Linked DNA regions of Homo sapiens: region 1 is linked to region 2. The links are contacts of gene promoters, found by promoter capture Hi-C in blood cells and fetal thymus (Javierre and others, 2016). All regions are on one chromosome and are shown on one strand. Each heading gives the region's core, a stretch centred on a gene start or on the middle of the fragment in contact. The rest is flanking DNA. Distances are from core to core; before and after follow the strand shown.

Region 1 (7,064 bases), core at 3,322-5,821, 180 kb after region 2:
CAGTAACTAATAAACTACAACTACAACCACAATAAGACACCATTGCTCACTCATCAAGTTAACTGAGAATTGAAAAGTATAAGCAAGAGTCTAGATAGGTGAGAATTCTTCCACATTACTTTGAACTTAGTTATAATCACTTTGAGCTAGAGGCTCCACCTCTGGGCATATAATCTCATGAAACTCTGTCACATCTGCAGAGAAGGTGTATAGAAGAATGTTGACTACAGCATTATTAGCAATAGAACAAAATAAGAGGAAACGAACTGACCATCAACAGTAGATAAATAAGCTGTGCTATAGCCATATAAGTATAATGAAATTTTGTGTAAGAACTGAAATGAATGAACTAGGATTACATGTATCATTAACATGGGTAAATCTCAAAAATAATGAATTTTAAAAAACCAAATTACAGAAAAATAGGTACAATAGGACACCTTTTGTATAAAGTTTGAAAGCATATAAAACAGCCTATTTGTTATTTATGGATTCACACATAAGACACATATGTGAAGAGTAGTATAAAGCATGAATAGGAATGGTAAACATGAAATTTAACATGATGGTTACCTGTAGGGTGGCTTAGAGGAGGAGCACGTAGGAGGCTTCAATTACTTTATAGTGTTTTATTATTTTACAAAATCTAAAGCAAATATGTCAAAATGTTAAGATTCAATAAAGTTAGATGGTGGGCAGACAAGTGTTTAATTATGTTATTTTCTCTCACGCTGTACGTATTTACAGAATTTTGTAATCCATTTTAAAAGATTCTAAATTGTCCTTTACTTCCAATACAAAGAAAGATGAAATTATAACTATATGCTGTTAAAGTTTTGATGTATGGCCTGCCACCCTCTTTCAACAGCCCTGGACAACTATTCCTAGTACTTAGCACAGTGCCTGGCCCCAGAAGAGTAGACGGAAAGAATAAAAGAATGAATGGACCTGTCCTTGGAAATAGAGGTGTGGCCACATGTACGCTGTGCCCTTTCTGTCATTAAATCACACTTTCCTTTCCAACCATCTCACTCAGCCTGAGTTGCCATCCAGTGTAATGATTCAGGGTAATTGTGCTTAGGGACGATTGCTAGTGGGATAGCAAGGAGTTGCAATTCAGCCCTGGCTGTGCTCTGAATTCATTAGTGAATTCATTTTCCAGCTTCGTGTCCTGCTCAGAAGAATGATCCTCTCTCCAAGCAGGGCATTGCTGTCTTTCTCATACTTAGCAATAACAACCAAAAACAAACCCAAGGAAATAAAATCACCAGGGAGGCTTTCCTCTTTAATTAAGGAGTTCTAATGAGTCACAGTCTCACCATGCATGGGACTCAATTATCCTTTATAAATAGGGGATTGTGAATGTGGGATGTGTTTTCTTTTGCAGCCCTGCTGCTATTTCTCCTTTGTTTCCTTCTCCTGGTGCTGCTGCTTCTCTCTGTACACGTGTATGCACATATGTGAAATTGATGACATAAAGAAGATCCAAATCTCTTCGCCTAGTCAACTTGAAGTTGTAAGATTCCTTGAGTGTCATTGAGAAATGTAATAGGGAGTGGGTGGCTTGGCTGGTAGCTTAAATGGTGCCAATGATTGTAAAGTCATAGGTACCATCCCCCAAAAGCCAGAATGATTTCCTCTGTTCTGCTGACACAGAGAGCATCACAAATCTTGGCAAATATATCATTGGTTACATGGTTGATCAGACAAGGCAGGGAGGAGTGAATCGTGTCAAATGGACCACCACCACTGAAACTCAAACCTGCCCCCACGCTGGTGATTTTTGTGGATTCCTTTAAGAGGAATGGTGAGTGTCTTCTAAGAGTAAGAAGGGTTAGCAGTGTTCCAGCTTACCTACAAAATGTGAAACTGAGAAAGCCCACTGGGGCGACTTCCATCTTTATTGCTAAAGAGTAAGAAATAGAGACTTGGTCATTCTCACTGTCATTTTTGTGATTTTTCTGAACCTGAAGGTATATAATGAGGAAAAATGAGACAAATTCAAGCAAAGAGAAATTTGGGCAGAATCTCTGGAGGGAAAAATAATCATGGTGAAATCCATTAGACTACGTAATAGTCATCCCCAAGGGGGATGACGTAAGCCTCATAGTTGCAGTCATTTAAATGTAGACTGAACCATGCATTTGTGAGCAGACCCCAGGGAACAATCCTGCATTGCACAGGGGATAGGGAAAGCGATAGGCCAGATGACCTAATAGATCTTCTGTAACTTAATTTCTAGGGTTGTGGGATCCTAATTAAAATGAACTATATTGCCTGTTATGAACCCTCCATGTTAATATTCTGTAAGGTCTCCAGGCAAGTCAAGGGGGTCTTGGCTTTTTCTTATTTCTTTTGAGCCAGAACCCACAGGCTGCCTTAAGCACCTAGCTGCTGTCCATCACTTCTTATAGCTGACAAAGCTTGACTTAAAAAAAAGTTTTTAAAGAAAATTACAGCACATATTATGAACTAACATTTTATACAAATTAATTGAGTGAAATGAGAGAAGTATGCTTCATTCTTTGACCTGTGATAATAAATATTCTTCCGGTCAATAACACGACGGTGAGTCAGCCCTGCGATGGAGGCAGTTGTCGCCATATAACACACAGGACTCCAATCTGCTTCCTCACATCTAGTGCTGACTTTTCCTTTTAGCTTTAATGATGTTTGAAAGGGAATATTGACGCTGGAAAAATCTTAGAGAGGCTCCACCAATCACAGACGAGCGCAATTCTCCACTAATGTGGGCCTCTTTTCCTTGACTTCCTCTAGACATGGAACTCCACTGAGGATTCTCAGGCAGGGCCACTGGCGAGCTGGCCAGAGCTGCTCTGAGAACCACCAGTGAAGGGCAGAGGGCACTTTAGCCCCAAAAGTAGTAGCAGTTTAGGGCAGGTGGAAGAGACGGGTGGTTCAATTGCCCCATGTGGCGTTTCAGGTGGGCCACATGGGTCAATTGAGTCTTATCAACTTGTGTCTTATCTAGCAATTGAATGCCATTGCTAGATAAGAGTGGTGACCTCCAGCTGGTAAGTTATTTTATCAGCCTTGTCCCATCCCAAGGATCCCCAAAAAGGCCACAGAACTCTGCCAGCAGGAAGTAGACACCGGTGTGCATCAGAGAATATCAAACTCTACCTATTTTAAATTTATAAACTGGATTCTAATTAGCCTGCAGGGAGTTTCCATGGAAATTGGAGATATCACTTTGCAACAGTATAAGATCACAGCATCAAGTAGACGGGAAAAGTGGAAAATCTCTATTCTTTTAGGAATCAGCTGGAGTCACCTCGCTATGAAATTGTCCCTGACCCAGGCAGATTCCAGGTGTTCCCACTTCCATTACAGTATTTGTAGTATGTAATTGTCAGTGTACATATCTACATCCCGCAGACGGGGGAGACACTGTCATTGTTTCTGTTTTTCTCCAGAATATGGCTCAGTTCCTGATACAGAAGACACTTAAAAACAACAACAACAACAACAAAACTTGTTCGATTATTACAGTGATGTCTTAGAACATTGGTTTCTTCATCTATAAAATGGCATAATAATACTAATTCAGTTGGCTGTTCTGAGGATTAAATGCCAGAACAAATAAGTACTTACAACAATGCCCAGCTCCTAAATAATGTGTAGTTCCTATCCCCGCTTATCTTGTGTGAGAGGATTATTTTTGGTTTTGATAGGTATCAGGCAAAAAGGGTTTTTTAAAACAGCAAATAAATCAGAATATTCCACACTTGTAGTCTGCATTTTGTGTTGCCATTTGATTGGGTTTCTAGACTAGGCCAGCATTTTATATTCTGTAAGCATGGTAGAGGTTATATTATCTCCAGCCCCAAATCTTGGACATTAAACCTTTTCCTCATTGCTCACTCGGCTAGATATACATTATTAATAAATGAGATTTCTGAGATGTTTAGACTTGATTCTAAACATTCATGAAATAAACTTGGAGAATGAGTAACTATCATCAGTGATGATAAAAATGAGCTTGGGAAGATACCCTGTGTGTTGATTCTGATGAGAATTTTACCTTTATTGGACACCAGAATATTTCCAGGTATTCCCTGAAAACTCCCCTAGAGATGTCTTAACTCTTCTTTGATGGTTAATATTAAGTGTCAACTTGATTGGATTGAAGGATGCAAAGTATTGTTCCTGGGTGTGTCTGTGAGGGTGTTGCCAAAGGAGATTAACGTTTGAGTCGGTGGACTAGGAGAGACAGACCCACCCTCAATGTGGGTGGGCACCATCTAATCAGCTGCCAGCATGGCTAGAATGAAGCAGACTTGCTGAGTTTTCCGCCCATCTTCTTTCTCCCGTGCTGGATGCTTCCTGCTCTCAAACATCAAACTCAAGTTCTTCAGCTTTTGGACTCTTGGACTTACACCAGTGGTTTGCCAGGGACTCTCAGGCCTTCGGCCACAGACTGAAGGCTGCACTGTCAGCTTCCCTACCTTTGAGGTTTTGGGACTCAAATTGGCTTCTTTGCTCCTCAGCTTGCAGATGGCCTATTGTGGGACTTTACCTTGTGATCATGTAAGTCAATTCTCCTTAATAAACTTTCCTTTATATATACATCTATCCTATTAGTTCTGTCCCTCTAGAGAACCCTAATACACTTTATTTTTACAAAACAAGAAGTGCTTATAGAATGACTTTTCAAGGAGGTTTATGCGATCAAAACACACTACAGTGTGATGCTGGGTTTGCAGGGCGACCATGGAACTGTTGGGCAGAAACTCACATATAGAATAGCCTGCTACCAACCAAAGCCAGGTTTCATCTTTCCCACCAGCAGAATCCACCTCTTCCAAATCCACCCACATCATTGCATGGCCTGCAGGTAGGCTTTTCAGCTTCCTCTGATTGTCATACCAGGCACTGGGCCTATAAAAAGCAAAGCGGAGGCTGAGAGGAGGCAGAGGCAAACACTGAAGGTGTTTCAGAGGCCTATTCCCCCTGTGTATGGTGAGCACAGCACCTGGCAATGGATCGGGCTCTCCCACCCAAGCCCCATGCCCACTCTGGCCCCTTACCCCTCAGCCTTGGTGCCCTGGGTTCCCTAGTTCTTCTGTGGCCTCGACTCCCAACTGTGTGAAACCTGCATTGTCTTGGAGTCAGTGAGCTACTGCCTTCTCTATTTCCTGCTTTTAATTCCAGTTGACTCTTGACTTACAATCATGTATTCTTACTGGAATTGCCTCCCTGAAGGGCAGAAATTCCCTTTCTCCTGCTCTTTTGCCCCATCTGCCCTCTGCTGGCCATCGATAGGTACTGCGGTCAACCCTGAAAAGCCGTTTTTCCCAGTAGCATGTACCGAAGCTGTTTGCTCTTTCCTAATTCAGACGCTTTCTTTTTCTTCTTTTTAAAATTTTGGTTGCATTGCCTCAGAGTTTTTCAAAGCAACACGGAAACACCCTTTCTCTTTCCATGTCCCCAGTGACCATGTCATGGATCTGCCGTAAAGCATCTCTTACAGTAGTGGTCTCCAACCTTTTTGGCACCAGGGACCGGTTTCATGGAAGGCAATTTTTCCATGGACCAGCGGGGTGTGGGGATGGTTTCGGGATGATTCAAGCCCATTACATTTATCGTGTGCTTTATTTCTGTTGTTATCACATTGTAATATGTAATGAAATAATTATATAACTCACTGTAATGTAGAATCAGTGGGAGCCCCTGGCTTGTTTTCCTGCAACTAGAAGGTCCCATCTAGGGGTGGTAGGAGACAGTGACAGATTTCCAGGCATTAGATTCTCATAAAGAGCCTGCCATTAATCTACAGCATCAGTGTTACGCTGTAGAATGGTTCAGAATCTTAGCCACCGAGATCCCTCGCATGCGCAGTTCACAGTGTGGTTCATGCTCCTATGAGAGCCTAATGCTGCCGCTGATCTGACAGGAGGCGGAGCTCAGGTGGTGATGCTGGCTGGCCCACACTCACCTCCTGCTGTGCAGCCCGGTTCCTAACAGATACCAGTCCGTGGCCCTGGGGGTTAGGGACCCCCGTCTTACAGCATCCAGCGGGGCCAGGCACTTGGTTAAGTAGATCCTTGATGACTGAAACGTGACAATGCTGAAATGGCTGTGGAGTACTGTTTGGAGTTTGTGGGGGTGGGGTTTGTAAACTGGAGAACTTTATGTTAGAGTTTCTTATTATTGACATTTGAGGCTAAATAATTCTTTGTTGTCTGAGTCTCTCCTCCACGGTGTAGTATGTTTCGCAGCACCTCTGGCCTCTACCCTCCACGTGCCAGTAGCACCTTCCCCAAGTTTGTTGTCCTCACAGACAACCAAAAATGTCTTCTCTACTCACTCCCAAATGTCCTGGGGGGGCAAAATCACTCACTGCGGAGAACCATGGCATTAGGGTGATGGAGTAGAAAGCCTGCTCTACTCAGAAGGACTTCTAAGTGCCAGAAGGTGCAGGTCTGCTCTCTGGGGCCACTCAGTGCTTTGAAGGACACCTGATTTATTTTGGAGATGGACACTTAACTGCTGAATACACTGGCATGGGTGGGTGGTCCCATCGAGAGTTTTTCTCAAAGGTTTTCAATGACTCCTCTTGTGTTCTCTGGCCTATCCTACTCCAGCTCTCAATTCTGCTAGGCTTGAGTTCCAGCGTCAGAGCCTTTCTGAGCCTCTCTTCTCAGTCTTAGCCTCCCCTCCTTCCCTCTCTCTCCACCCACCTTCTGGCCGTCTGGGAAGCTTCAGCTTCATCCTGCTTCCCCAGCACTGCTCCTCCATCCACCTTTTTTTCTTCCATAGATTCGTTAAAAACATCTTGTCTGAAGGCAGTTCTCCCCTTTCTACATCACCATGGGTTTTTTTTGCAGAATTTTCTTCCATTACAATCACTGATTGTAATCAATTCTCTTTCCCCCAGGTCTCTGCCTCCTCTCTGTCAGGAAGGAGAGAGAGAAGTTAACCACACAGAACTGACCACCCTCTTTACCCAGAAGGAGCTGATCAGCCATCTTTAGGCAGAAGGCTTCCTCCAGCTGCACCCAGATTCCCCTTCTGTCTCCCACAGCACCCTGGGCTTACTT
Region 2 (7,474 bases), core at 2,989-5,488:
CTTGGTGGATTTTGAGATCAGACAGGTAAATGTAAAAAGCTTTCCTTTTTGCTTATACAAAGTATCTCTAAAATATAAATTTTCCTTTGTTCAGACTAATCTGAATAAACTTGATGCTGACTGAGATAACTGCAGACATTCTTCAACAACAGTATCTTCCAGGTCAATTTGATGATACTCATTTCATCTGTATGTGCAGTGCAGATCTGGTCCAGAACTTAAAGTGAGAAAAATTATCACATAACAGGGGAGTCTGAATGTGATCAATAAGCCAGGTCTCTCACTGACCCATCTGGGACAGAAATCAGATGCTCCTCTAGCCTGTGAGTGGATGAATGAGAAGAGTGAGTCTGCACAGAGTGAGTTATTGTGGTCAGATTCAGAGGAAGCTGAATTCTGTGTGGCTCTGTATTCACTGCGGTTCTATTTTACAAAGTTCTGGGTAGCTCACAGCCATTTTTGACATCAGCATGTGCTGGCTTTGCAGAATGGATACTAATCAGTTTGGCATCTTGGAATGTTGCATAGAGCTTGGGAATGAGAAACTAGAGGCAAGCAATCGGTAGAAGCACCTCAAATCTGTAACATCCTAAACTGAGGTACCACCTCCCATCAGAGTGTTATATCTCATAAGCTTCCCAGCCAAATATTCCCCTAGGGCCAGACCAGAAGTCAGCACTTCCAAAGAGATTCTATGGTACAATACAATCTGTTTGGAGACTTGCAGTCATTAGACCTGCCACCCACTTGAACTCCCTGAGAGAAAACTCTGGTTGATGCCCTATTATCTTTTTTTTTTTTTTTGCTTGTTTTTTGCCTTGCTGATCCCTTTTTCTAGAGCCATCCTTCTTTCCCAGGTTTTAGTTGATTTTTACTCTTCCTTCAAAACTGAGTTCAAACTAAGTGTCCACTCATCAAGAAGACATCCATATCCATACAACTGCCCCAATCTGATTTATAAATCATTTGGTTCTTCCCCAAACCCTTTAAAAGCCATTCAGATCACCTTACACTGCCCAGTAAAATGAATCATATTTATCTGTAAAAAAACACACATATCTAAATACACTTTTTTTCAGCCCTGATCTGGCTGGTTCTTATTTTAAAAAATGCATTAGAAGAATATGCTTGTACAGCCTCTCTGTACCTCAGTTCTCTCACCTGTAAAGTGGTATAATAACAGTGCATATCTGATAGGGTCATTTTGAAGCTTAAACCAGAAAATGAATGTGAAGTTCTTAGAAGAACCACGAGCTCTTATTATTATGTGTGGAATTTATAAATAAATGTAATTTTGAGTAAGTCAATCACTTTAAACACATTTCTTCTTCTGGGAAATAGAGATAATTTTATTTCTTCACAGAATGGCAGTAAGAATCAAATGAGTTAACAGTGCATGGAAGTTATTTCCAAAGGTTCTTTACAGCTCCTTTGTGAGCTGAAAAGAACTATTTAGAAACTGGGATTTGTATTATTGTTACCTAAAGAATTACACAATGTTTTAAAGACAGAACCAAAATTTTTCAAAGAAGAGTCTTCAATGACTGACGCAAGCATGGCCTTGCACTTCTTGCTTAACCTGCCAATGCTGGACATAAAAGACAACAGATTTCAAAGGTCTATGCAGAACTGGAATTCTCTCATCTAAGTAAGACACCAGTGTCCATACCATCTGGAACTTACAGGGAACTTAGGATGTACATTGATGCTGGTTGATCCTAATTATATTGCAAAATCTATGGAATTCAAGAGCCATAAAGAATTTTTGAAATCATTTATTCCAACTCCCTCGTTTTATTGATGAGGCAACTGATGCCTATGGATCCCAAGCAACCAGCCCCAAATCACATATCAAACTAGTAATAAACAACTCAAGTCTCCTAATTTGTAGATTATAGGCTTATGTAAATTTTGTTTATATCATGTTTCCTGCCTTTTTAGGGTGGCCTTGGGTTCAAATTCCAGTTTCACCATTTATTAATTCTGTCACTTTAAGTGACTTACTGAACTGATGCAAGTCTGTCTCTTTCTTTGCAAAATAAACATCATAGCATCCTCTTAAAAGTTTACTGTATGATAAAAAGAGGTAATGTCTCTAAATCAGGTAGCAAAGCATGTGCCTGACACCTGCTTCACCACTCACCAACTTCTTATGGTAAATACTGTAACGTTTTAAAAAACTAAATCATGCATAAAGATCAAAACCATATTTTAAAATATCTCTTAAAAAAAACACAACAACTAAGGTAACTGATATGTGTGAATTTCTTTTGGTACCGAAGTGGTTAAAAAAAAATCCTTCCTTCTGGTTTAAAGCCTGGCTGTCCCAGTGCTCTCTTTCCACATAATATGCCCTTCTCCGCCAGGCGGTCACGTATGGCAGGGTATATAGTAAAGCAGTGTACAGCACAGAGCTGTACTATATCACATGTTTGCTTTCGCACCTTTGCACCTCTCCCACCAGGTACTCTGAGGCTGCCAATTCTAGCTGCTGCTTTTACTCCTCTTCCTCTCTTTGCCCAACCGCTGCTTTAAGGATGTGTCTCGCCTGAGAACAGCTCCCTTTATCAACACAAGACAGAAATTGCTCCAGAGTGACCTGGGCTCTGTCTTCCTCAGGGGGCCAGAGTCTTCTTGTCCGAGTACCTACCTGACAGCACATCTCCCCTGGCCAGCATCCACCTCCTTGTCCTCCACAACCCACTCAGCGGCTAACCTGGCCACCAACTAACTTCTCGCCCTCGGATCCTCGCGTTTATAAAAGGTGCGAGACGACCAAGTTCTACAAGGTGGGGCGGGCAGGCACCCGCACTTATCCCCTGGCCCTCCCCGCAGCAGACACAGGGACCAGGTCCAAGCTTCTTTCCTCCGGGGACAAAACTTGGCTGTTTATCTTTCCCAGGGCATCTTCGTCTCTCCCCGGGACGTGGAACCCCGATGCACCGGCAGGGACAGCCCGGAGCGCTCGCAGGAGACCAGGCCCACGGTGGTGCCATGGTTGGGCACACTCCGCGGGCTCCGCCCAATCTCCACCCCTAGGTCCAGGTCCCCCTAGGAGAGCTAGGAGCACATTTCCAGCCTGGAGCAGGAGCCCGGCACCGGAAAGTCAGAGCAGCGCACTGCGGCGCCCCAGCCACTGCGGAGCCCCTGGCCAACCGCAGTTACGTTCCATCTGTCGTATCTACATGGGAATACGGCGACAGGCACCCTATCCCCTCACGTCAGGGCTAGCAGTATGAGGTGGGGAAAGAGGAAACCTCGAGAGTTAAAAGCGAGGGAACTGAAAGTCCCCTTGAGGGGTGTCCCCCATGCCCCTTGTGGGACAAAGCCCCAATTCGCAGGCTACCCTCCAGAGCTCCAGCGGTCCGGTTCTCCCCATCAGCACCCTCTGCGCACACTGACCCGCGCGTCCCTCCGCAGCCTGACCGCCCGATCCGCCAGCCACCGGCGCGGGCAGCGAGGGGGTGTGTGCGCCAGATTTTCCGCGTGCCCCCCCGCCCCTCCAGCGGCTCCCTCGCCCTGCAGCTGCTGCTCCGGGCGCTGTCCGCGCTGGGCAGGCCGCCCCCGCGTCCCGCCGCGGCGGCCCGGGGCCCGTGCGCGCTCACCAGATGGCCATCCTGCTCTTGGGGTAGTCCAGCCGCTCCAGGCAGCCGAGGAAGTGCGGCAGCGTGTGCGCCGCGTTGCGGGCGAGGACCGCCACGAGCACCGTGGGGCTCTGCAGGGGCGACTCCGGGAAAACCACCGGCTCCTCTCCGTCGTCCTCCGAGTCCCGCTCGGCGACGAAGCGCGCTCGGCAGCCTTCGCGGAGCAGGGCTGAGGAGAGGAGCAGTAGCGACCAGGCGAGGGTGGCAGCAGGGCGCGCAGCCATGTTCCGGGCCGAGGCGGGCGGCGGGGAAGTCCTGGCGCGAGCGCCCGGCTGGGCTGCCTGAGGGCGGCGGCGGCTGCCGGGGAGCAAGGGGCTGCGAGGGGCGGCCGGGGGATGCGGCTTGCCGCGGCCGGCCGGCTCACACACTGGCCTCGGCGGCTGCGGTTCCCAGGACCCTCCCGCCGCCGCTGCACCGCCCAGGCCCCAGTGCGGGTGCGCAGCGTACCTGCAGCCGCTGGCGCTCCCCTGCGCCTCGGGCTCGCAGACAGTAGTGGCCGAGGGGCTGTGTGCCCTGAGTCCTGAGGAAAGTTCCTCTAGTCCAGGTTCCGCTCGTACAGCTGAGGTCTGTGGCCTTCCCTAGAGCCGCGAGTTGTGGCCCTGTCTGCCAATGAGCCTGTGAGTGTGTGTGTGTGTGTGTGTGTGTGTGTGTGTGTGTGTACATAACGGTACAACCCCAAGAAAATTTATTCTGCTTTTGCAAACCGCAGACTGAAGCCCTTCACAGTGATGCAATGTATCCAGTTTTCATAATGCACCTATTGACTGAGTAGAGTTCTAAAATGAAAAGTCTCCCCAACTATTCACGATTATGACAAACACTTGTTTAACCACCGCAAAGGCAGCATGTCGCATTTTCTTATATACTCAACTTCTGAAATTCATTCTTGACTGAGTAGACACCTAATAACACAAAGTTTGAAGACTTGGAGAATTTTGGAGCCAGATCAGACCCCGCAAAATAAAAGAAAGCCCTTGGGAGACACTGTCCTGAAGCCTCACTCTACTGTGAACCCAGTAAGCCTCCTCACAGGAGGGCTGTGAAAGAATAAATTCACTTAGCTGGTTTTCTTTTTCCGTAATAAGCCAATATGATAGAGTAACAAAGAGGGAAAATTCGCGCATGTTGGAGAGCAGAGAAGAGATAAGGAAGAAAAGAAGGGGTGAAGGAAGAACACAATTAGCACATAAAATGAAACTGCTGGCATACACTGCTAAAGGAGATTTACTTTTTTTTTTTTTTTTTTTTTGAGACAGGGCCTCACTCTGTTGCCGGGGCTGGAGTGCAGAGGCACGATCACAATTCACTGCAGCCTCGACCTCCTGGGCTCAAGCAATCCTCCCACCTCAGCCTCCCGAGTAGCTGGGACCACAGGTGTCCATCACCACGCCTAGCTAATTTTTTTTTTTTTTTTTTTTTTTGTAGAGACGGGTTTTCACCATTTTGCCCAGGCTGGTCTGGAACTCCTGGGCTCAAGTGATCTGCCCAACTCGGCCTCCCAAAGTGTTACGATTACAGGCATCAGCCACCATGCTCGGCTGGATATTTAGTTTTGAAGATATATTGTGTAGCCTTTGATAGATAAGTATGGAGGGTGTTTTGGTGCCAGTGCACATTCATGATCTCCAATCCCAACTCACCCTCAGGTCTGTCCCATAGTCTTTTTATTAGTTGTTATCAATCCTTCTCAGCAACTATTAGAAGTCTTCCCTACTGTCTTTTGAAGTATATCACCTCCTTCATCCAGCTCCCCCAACACCACTGTCTCCAACTAGCATCCCTACCAAGACCTTTCTTACTTGCAGGTGCCTCCTCACGACAGGGTCTTTGATCACAGACTAGAAAGGGAGAGGTCTCCCTTTCTAGCCCATGATTTTTCTCTATCATTCCACTCTCTACTGAATCTTCAACTGATCTCTATCAACTCCTTTCTCTCAAGCTAAATACTTGGTCAGTCTTCTCTTATCCGTTAAAAAAAAAAGAAAGAAAAGCTTTAAAAAAAAGTCCTGTGTCTTCTTCTAGTCATCCCTTTGCTTGACCAAGCTCCTTGGAAGAGAGATCTATACTTGTATTCTCCACTTCTTCATCTCCCATCTTTCCCACCACAGTGCAGTAAGGCGTCAGCCCTCCCCACTGTTCTGCAAAACCAACAGATGGCCTCAGCATTGGCAGATTCAGTAAACTCTTCCGTTCTCACCTTCCTGGACTTCGATTACATAATCTCCCATCCTAGATCTCCTCTGATACTACTTGTCTCTGAGCCAAGCCCCTTCACTGTGTGCCTCCCTATAGTGTGCTAGTCTTCCCACTCCATATGGTCTCCTGTGGTTATATCCTCAAAATCTATGTCTTCTGCTCTAATCTCTTCTCTAATCTTCATATTTTTTTATCGAATGGCCTACAGACATTTCCTTCCCCTCCATCCATTTTCAGGAATTGTTCCCACTTTCAAGGGGCTCACAGTCTTGTAGGGAAGACTGAGAGTTAAACATCTGTTAGAAGTACTGTAACAGATGTACCAGCTACAGTGAAGGGATAGAGGAAGATGTGGTCATTTCCACAAGGGAGGTAGTGATGGGACTGTTAGAAAGGTCCAGACAATCTCCATGTTGTTCTGTCTTTCTTGTTTCCCTTTCTTGAACTATGTCCCACTCATCTTTCAATACTAAAATCCGCACTCCTTAGCCAAACTTGGTTTGATAGTTATCATTTGTTCACTTTACTGCAAACAGAGGGAGTTTAAAGCTAGGCAACCACATTTCTGTCTTATTTTCCTTCTGTTACTGATATGGTCTGCCTATGTCCTCACCCAAATCTCACATCGAATTATAGCTCCCATAATCCCCACGTGTCGTGGGACGTAATTGAATCATGGGGGCAGGTTTTTCCCATGCTAGTCTCGTGATAGTGAATAAGCCTCACAAGATCTGATGGTTTTATAAAGGGCAGTTCCCCTGCACATGCTCCCTTGCCTGCCGCCATGTAAGGTGTGTCTTTGCTCCTCCTTTGCCTTCTGCCATGATTGTGAGGCCTCCCCAGCTATGTGGAACTGTGAGTCCACTAAACTTCTTTTTCTTTATAAATTACCCAATCTCAGCTATGTCTTTATTCACAGCGTGAGGACAGACTAATACAGTTACCTAAAGTCAACAGCTTATCTGAGTCTATTTTTTCAAAGAAAGGTGAAGCATCTAAACCTGTATGGTCTCTAATGACATTATAATGAAATCGGCTCCATGGAGTTCTCTTAAAATAACTACAACCTGCTCTGCTCTGTAGATGAAATCAAGGGTTTCCCAGCCACATAACCTACAAAACACCTATTTAAAACTTTTAATTGAGTGCTCATTTAGTGACTGAGAATATTAAGGTAATAACAGGGTATGCAACAGTAGAAGATCATTGTAAATATGGTTGGGAGGCAGTGGAGGGGAAGCCTGGGAAAAATTAAGTCCCCATCTTACTAACAGATTTGTTTCATAAGTTCTTCAGAAATCAGTAATGTGAATTTGGATGTTTCCCCCCCGCATAGGATTGATGTTATAAGACAGTTAATTTGAAAAAAAAAACTAATTTAAAAATAAAAGCCAATTATATTTTAAAATATTCATTGCTTATAATGCTCTTTCCATGGAAAATCGGCTGAATGGAAAGTCAGGGTTGTACACACATATCTCTTTGTCTCCACTGCCAGTAGACTGTTCCAATTGATTCTACATAAAGTTAGAAGTAAGCACTTTCTCTCATATCCCCTCCCCATACTGTTCCAGCACAGGGGACTTCCATCTGGGACAACAAAACCTCTTGGACTGTCACCCTTAGTGCAATGT

The links. Contacts are between HindIII fragments. The CHiCAGO score rates a contact against its expected background, and 5 or more counts as called.
Region 1: a fragment that was not itself captured here is called in contact with the fragment with the promoter of COLGALT2 in region 2 in 1 of 17 cell types (neutrophils); the score reaches 5.8 in neutrophils.

Annotation. Positions count from the first base shown.
Region 1 is chr1:184,217,487-184,224,550 of GRCh38, forward strand. No RefSeq gene overlaps it. Among named protein-coding and RNA genes, the nearest start is that of C1orf21-DT, 170 kb to the right of the region's middle. RefSeq lists an enhancer at 5,947-6,480. The HindIII fragment of the contact is 4,300 bases long and covers 2,422-6,721 here.
Region 2 is chr1:184,033,490-184,040,963 of GRCh38, forward strand. It overlaps COLGALT2 (collagen beta(1-O)galactosyltransferase 2), which reads right to left and starts at 4,239. Exons shown (of 12, transcript NM_015101.4): 1 at 3,606-4,239. The coding sequence starts at 3,868. RefSeq lists a silencer at 3,962-4,051. The HindIII fragment of the contact is 2,777 bases long and covers 2,857-5,633 here.